Linked DNA regions of Homo sapiens: region 1 is linked to region 2. The links are contacts of gene promoters, found by promoter capture Hi-C in blood cells and fetal thymus (Javierre and others, 2016). All regions are on one chromosome and are shown on one strand. The core of a region is centred on a gene start or on the middle of the fragment in contact, and the rest is flanking DNA. Distances in the headings are between cores, read along the strand shown. Region 1 holds the start of PM20D2 (peptidase M20 domain containing 2). Region 2 overlaps LOC124901363 (a long non-coding RNA gene).

Evidence for each region. Contacts are between HindIII fragments. The CHiCAGO score rates a contact against its expected background, and 5 or more counts as called.
Region 1: the fragment with the promoter of PM20D2 here is called in contact with a fragment that was not itself captured in region 2 in 6 of 17 cell types (activated CD4 T cells, naive CD8 T cells, non-activated CD4 T cells and 3 more); the score reaches 10.4 in activated CD4 T cells.

Annotation. Positions count from the first base shown.
Region 1 is chr6:89,143,892-89,147,369 of GRCh38, forward strand. It overlaps PM20D2 (peptidase M20 domain containing 2), which reads left to right and starts at 2,164. Exons shown (of 7, transcript NM_001010853.3): 1 at 2,164-2,718. The coding sequence starts at 2,254. LOC101929004 (a long non-coding RNA gene) reads right to left here and starts at 2,975. Exons shown (of 4, transcript XR_942766.4): 1 at 1,802-2,975. RefSeq lists a silencer at 1,981-2,910. The HindIII fragment of the contact is 3,355 bases long and covers 1,223-3,478 here.
Region 2 is chr6:90,588,204-90,591,709 of GRCh38, forward strand. LOC124901363 (a long non-coding RNA gene) reads left to right here. Exons shown (of 2, transcript XR_007059680.1): 2 at 2,445-2,756. Among named protein-coding and RNA genes, the nearest start is that of MAP3K7, 2.9 kb to the left of the region's middle. The HindIII fragment of the contact is 5,597 bases long and covers 1-3,506 here.

The DNA of each region.
Region 1 (3,478 bases), core at 914-3,413, 1.4 Mb before region 2:
GCCATTATTCAGTTAGTTTATTAGATTCAAGAAGAATAATCAGCCAACAAATATTTATTAACACAGAGGAAATGCTGACCATAAGATGTTAGGTGCTGGGGAATGCAGTGGGAAAACAAAAGAGTTTAAAGCCTGGAGGGGAAGATAAACGGTCAGCAAGTTATCACAGTTTATCAAATAAATGAATTCAAGGGTGCAAAATACCATGAGCAAGAAATACAAGGTGTCAACAGTAGAAACTGAATACATACGTGCCTGTGGGCATGTATACCCACCCACCCACCCACATATATACACAAGGAACAGAGCTTGAAATGAATCTGTCTTTCCTCTACCTCAAGTGGCAGCTTTGTTAATTCCTGCAAAGCAATATAAATAGCAGCTTCTATATGAAATTATATGCATCCCTTTTCTGTTGCTGTTTATTGATGCCTGAGGAGGGCAAACATGGGTTCTACTGATGTCAGCAGGCAGAGTTGCTGCAGTAAAATTTATTCAAAATGAGTGTTGTGGGTTCTGATTTGAATAGATAAACTGGAGATGCATTTATGAATTTGCATGTCTGTTTACACAAGCAATAGACCATGGTGGCTGAAAGTCAGCCACTGGAGGCTGACTCTGGCTTCTGTTCTACAGTGGGTCCACTACTTACTAGCTCTATAATCTTGGACATACATCTGTAAAATGAAGATAAATAACCACATTAACCACCTCATAGTTTGCTGTGAGGATTAAATGAGTTAACAAATGCTAAGCCCTTGGAACAGTGCCTAGCACAGAGTAATTGCTCTACAAATGTCACCTATTGCTTTTGCTCTCCAATCCCCCCTTCTCCCCTTTTTTTAGCCAACTAACTGAGCAGGATAATATTGGATCTCGTGGATACAGGGTAATTTTCTTCAGCAGAATACCAGAGAAAGATTTATTATCGCCAAGGGGGCCCAGGAATTTAATAACACATTTGTTGTTTTTAGAGCTGAGTTTTTGTTGGAGTGTTAACTGAGAAAGAAAGTTTTCAGACGTGAATGGAATGTGACATTTACTCTGGTATTATTAGCATATAGAGTAGTAAAAACAGTAGTTGATAGTCTTCGTGCATGTTAGCTTCCCTTAGACTTATTTTCAAAATATTCATTTGGTTTATCACATTAATATATTGTGTCCCATTTAACATAGTTGAGACAAATTAAGGAAAGATGATAGGGTATGAAGAGCTGATAGAAGCTTTTAATATGTGGAAAACCTCAGAATATAAACATCTACAGTGTTATTAATAGGCATACCGTCAACAACAGTTTTTCAGACTTTGTGGTTCACTCTGGAGAAAAACAAGAGCATGACATCTTGAATTTCTTCACTGGGTAATTAAAAAACTCAGTTATAATGTAACACCAGCTGCACATATCATGTTAGTGGAGTTCAGCATCAATTAAAATTATAAACGAAACCTGTCATATGTTCCCTTTCAAAGCTGTTCAAGACAACTGTCCAAATCAACAAAACAGTATGAATATTTACTACCATAAATCTTTTAACTCTTTGGTTTTAACTCATTTCAAATTTTTAGTTCTACTCTATTCAAATAAATTATTATATAATAGCTAATACATACCAAGAGCTTACTGCATAATCTAGCTGCTGTTCCAGACATTAGTAACCAATGAGAAAACTGTAGAGAGTAGCTGCAGCTTTTAGTAATACAATGTCAAGGAGAAGAAAGTGGGGGCAGTACCGAAACTTACGTACAGTACCGTCGTTAGTACAGCATTGACACTGACGGCCTCCTTCAGGAAATACAAACCTTGTGAGGTTTTAATTACTAATGCTACAGAGTGGCGTTTTTCCGAGGACTGTGTTCCACTTGGTCTGTCTCTGATGGCTATTAACTAATAACCGTTCTCATTCTGCTGCTGTGGGAAATAAGCAACAACGGAAAAGTAATCGATAATCTTAGAGCATAACTCAAAGGCCAGAGCAGCCAAGGAGGTGGAAGAGTCCCGAGCCCTGCCTTCTCCACAGCACCCCCAAAACCCCACGGCGGGGCAGAGCGCCTGGTAGGGTACGAGCGGCCGCCAGCGTTTCCCGCGCGGCGCCGGGGGCGGCCCCGGGACTGGGGGTGGTGCCCTGGGAGCTGTGTGGCCGCGTGCGCGCTCCGCCGGGGTCCTGGAGGCCTCTGGGCGCGTGCGCGGGCGGTCGCTACCTGCGGCCGAGCCAGGGAGCGAGAGGGCGCAGAGGGCAGCGGGCTTGGGCAGCATGAGGCCCGGAGGGGAGCGGCCCGTGGAAGGGGGCGCGTGCAATGGCCGCTCCGAGCTGGAGCTACTGAAGCTGCGCTCGGCGGAGTGCATCGACGAGGCGGCCGAGCGGCTGGGGGCCCTGAGCCGCGCGATCTGGAGCCAGCCCGAGCTGGCCTACGAGGAGCACCATGCCCACCGCGTGCTGACGCACTTCTTCGAGCGGGAGCCGCCCGCGGCCTCCTGGGCAGTGCAGCCGCACTACCAGCTGCCCACGGCCTTCCGCGCCGAGTGGGAGCCGCCGGAGGCCCGGGCACCGAGCGCCACGCCACGCCCGCTGCACCTGGGCTTCCTCTGCGAGTACGACGCGCTGCCCGGCATCGGCCACGCCTGCGGCCACAACCTCATCGCTGAGGTCGGGGCGGCGGCCGCGCTGGGCGTGAGGGGGGCCTTAGAGGGCCTCCCCAGGCCGCCTCCGCCCGTGAAGGTGAGGTGGGGCCCGGGTGCGGGACCCTATCCGACTGCCCGGGTCGGGGGCGACCCGGGAAGGGCGGGACTCTCGTGCGTCCCGCGCGCCTCGGTGCCCTCCCGCCCGGGGCAGGTGTGTGTGGGACCGCGCTAAACCTGCGGTCCTCGCCTCGGCGCAGGAGCAGAGCTGAACCCCCAGTCAAAGTCAGTTCGCGTTGCCGACCTGGCGACATCTTGCAGATTATTGTTTCCTCCTCTCTAGTTATAAACAGCTCTGCTGAGTTGTTCCCTTAGGAAAGAACTTACACCCAAGCCTGGTGTTTGTTACGGGTTATTTTTGGTAACTGAGAGAGGCAACAGCAATTTGCTGACAAGGTTGTGCCATCAATCTCAGGAGGAAATAACTTCTTGTAGGTAATCCTACGGCCCCTTTTTATTCGTCTCCAAATAAATCTTTTGTTTGTGGCAGTCCTAGAAAATGTGATTCAAGTCATTGGTATTTGGATAGGAATTTTCAGTCGCTAGAACCACCAGACCCCTAGAAGTATACAAATAAAGGGGAAGTGAATGAGCATTATACATAGATGAGTTCATCCTTAAGTCTTAATTTTTTTGTTTTATGATTTTAAGAAATACCTCGACTCTTTAAACAGGGAAATGTCGTTTATGTTTGTCGTAGGGCAAGTTTAATCCTGTTTTACTCTGCTTTTCCAGATGGTATATTCTACACTATGAGCTAAGATTCAATCGTCATTCAGTTAAGGGGAAAACAAATGTTT
Region 2 (3,506 bases), core at 849-3,348:
CGATAATTTCTTTTCACTGTACACTCTCTCTTTGCATGCTCTTACCCAAGGTCTCTGTTTCTCATACTATTTTTATAATGATGACTCCTAATCTCCAAATACTCAAGATTTTTCCTGAATTCTGGACCTATTGGTCATCTCTACTTAGACAAACACCTAAACTTCAAGATACCACAGCAAATTCAAAAGTTGTCACCCACCACAAATATATTCCTATGTTATTTTCCTATGTCACTTAAGGATGCCATCACCCAGTTGGTTGTCCAAGTGAGAAATCAGGGCATGTGAAATGATGCGTGGTGCACTGATACCCAGTAGAAGCTGATATAATCAGTGGGACAGTCATTTTCACCTGTCATTCCCCTTGCATTTCCAAACAAGGATGGTCACTTCTTACCTTGTGCTATAACTCTGCAGGTCTATATCCGATTTCCTTTTAACACCTTGATCTTGCTGCCAGGTGGGAACTCAATAAATACTTAGATATTCTGTACAAATGAATAGCTTTTGTCAGTCCTCCCTTTCCCTGGAGTGTAAGATATGTTTCCTGTACCTTCAGTTTAGGACTGGAATCTTGACAAAGGACTAATTAATTACCACAGCCATGATGCAGTTCTCCTGCTTGATTTTTCCCCCCAAAATTTTGTTACAAAAATGTCAAATATAGAGAAAAGTTGAAAGAATTTATGGTGAACACCTATATGCCCACCACCAGGATTCTACCTTTAACATTTTACTATACTTGCTTTATCATAATATACATATGTGCATCTCATCTCTCCATCCATATTTACATCCATCTACCATTTTGCTAGATGCATTTCAAAGTGAATTGATTACATGATTTTGAATATCTTCTACCCCAACACTTCTATGTTTTATCCACTGATTTGGACTTCTAATATTGATGCCAGTCTAAAATCAATTTTTGTCCAACTTGCTTGCAGATTACTTTTTTCTTTTTTGTCTGCCTGCGCCTTTTCCCTAGCTTCTAGTAATAGATGGAAAGTTTCATCAGTGTTTATGTCTCTGGGTTCAGTCATTCCCAAGGTCCAATCCATCTCTTACATTCTGTGATTTGGTTATGTGAGCTAGTAAATTACCATTTCATTTAAGCTGGTCCAAGTTGTATTTTTGTCACTTGTAACCAAATAATCCTAAGTAATAAAGTTTAAATGCAGAGGAATGATGGAGGGGAGCTGAACCTCTCTCAGTTCACTTCAATTTTGACTTTGCATTTCCTTTAACTTTCATGAATTAAGGATAGAAACTTGACCTCAGAATTTCATGTCAACTTCAGTCACCAGTCTGTGTGTCTCCACACGTTTCCGGATACATATCAAAACTATTTAAGTAAATTCCTTGAAGTCCCTCCGAGTTTGAGCACCCTCCACCATTCTCCCTCATGTCAGCACCCTAATAACTACTCTCTAACTTCCAACTCTGTCTTCAATTTTGGCCCTTTTATACTCTCCAGGGGTTGAGAGGACAAGGGTTTCAAAATCCATTTCCCACCACCTCTTTGCTTGTTCTAAATGAGATTCTGATCTTATTTGGCTCATTTTGGGTGTAGGGATATCTGGGACCTATTTTAATGGAGGCTTAGCAGAAACTGGGACTAAAGTAACACCACTTTAATGTTCTGGGTCATATATATGTCAGACAAGTGTTCCATATTTCCATCATAGGCTTGATGATAACATCAATAATTGAGTTTCCATTATTCTCTTCTGCCTTTTGTGGTATTTGCTATATTCTACAATAGTGTTTTTCAATCTTTTTTTTCATTATTGTTCTTTTAAGGAGCCTTTTTAGACATCTTAATGCCCCTCCTCAAAGTTTTAATACCTCAGATACACTGTATATCTATTTATGTATTGTATGTATATTTGTGCTTTCTATGTAAAAAGAGTAAGATTTTTTCTCTCTCCAGTTTTTGCCCCCTGTGGAGGTGTTATTGCCTCCATTGAGAATGCATGTACTAGCAGTTTCATTTTTCACATGACACATCACAAAGTACAACCGAGAGCATCTCTTGGTAGCCATCTCAGAAGAGCAGTTAAACATTCTTTTTCAAAAGCCCTTGGTAAGTTTACCCTTGAGGGATGGGGAACAGGATGCTTGAGGATACACACAGTCATGCGCTGCATAACGATTTTTTGGTCAATGGACCTCATATGTGACAGTGGTCCTATATGATTATAATGAAGCTGAAAAAATCCTATTGGCTAGTGACATTGTAGCCATAGTAATGTCATAGCATGACACATTACTTATAGTGCATTACTCGTGTTTGTGGTGATACTGGTGTAAACAAACTTATGCTGCTAGTCATACAAAAGTATAATACAATTATGTGCAGTGCATAATATTGATAATGATAAACAACTATGTTACTGGTTTATATAATTACTATACTATACTTTTTAATTGTTATTTTACAGTGTACTCCTACTTCCATAAAAAAACTATAAAACAGCCTCAGGCAGGTCCTTCAGGAGGTATTCCAGAAGAAGGCATTGTTATCATAAGAGATGACTGCTCCGTGCGTGTTATTGCCCCTGAAGACTTTCTGGTGGGACAAGATGTGGAGGTGGAAGATAGTGATGTTGATGATCCTGACCCTGTGTAGGTAGACCTAGGCCAACATATGTTTGTCTTACTTTTTAGCCAAAACGTTTAAAAACTATAAAAAAATAAATAAACAGAAAAAAGTGTATAGAATAAGGATCCAAATAAAATACTTTTGTACAGCTGTTCAGTGTGTTTGTGTTTTAAAGCTAAGTGTTATTACAAAAGAGTCAAAAAGTTTTAAAAAATTTAAAAGTTTATGAAGTAAAAGAGTTATAATAAGCTAAGGTTAATTTATTGTTGAAGAAAACTTTTAAAAAATAAATTTAGTGTAACCCAAGAGTACAGTGTTTATAAAGTCTACAGTAGTGTACAGTAATGTTCTAGGCCTTCGCATTCACTCACCAGTCACTCACTGGCTCACCCAGAGTAACTTCCAGTCTTGCAAACTCCATTTATGGTGAGTGCCCTATATAGGTGTACCATTTTTTTAAATCTTTTATATTGTTTCGTTACTGTACCTTTTCTATGTTTAGATACACAAATACCATTGTGTTACATTTGCCTGCAGTATTCAGTATAGTAACATGGTTTATACAGCTTGTAGCCTAGGAACAGGTATAGCTGTTATATACCTAGGTATACCATATAGCCTAGGTGTATAGTAGGCTATGTCATCTTGTAATGATATAAGTATATAATGTTTGTATAAGTACACTCTATGATGTTCACATAATGGTGGAATTGCCGATCAACACACTTCTCAAAACTTATCCCTGTAGTTAAGCAATGCATGACTGTACGTTGTTTAACTTAGATTGAGGGCTCCTGGAAACATGGGCTCTAAGGAGGAGGAGGAGATGCTAACCCGAAGGAAAATCTTAATACTCTTAGGAACAGCAAAGCAGGCAATGGTTGATGGGTGGTGGGTATGC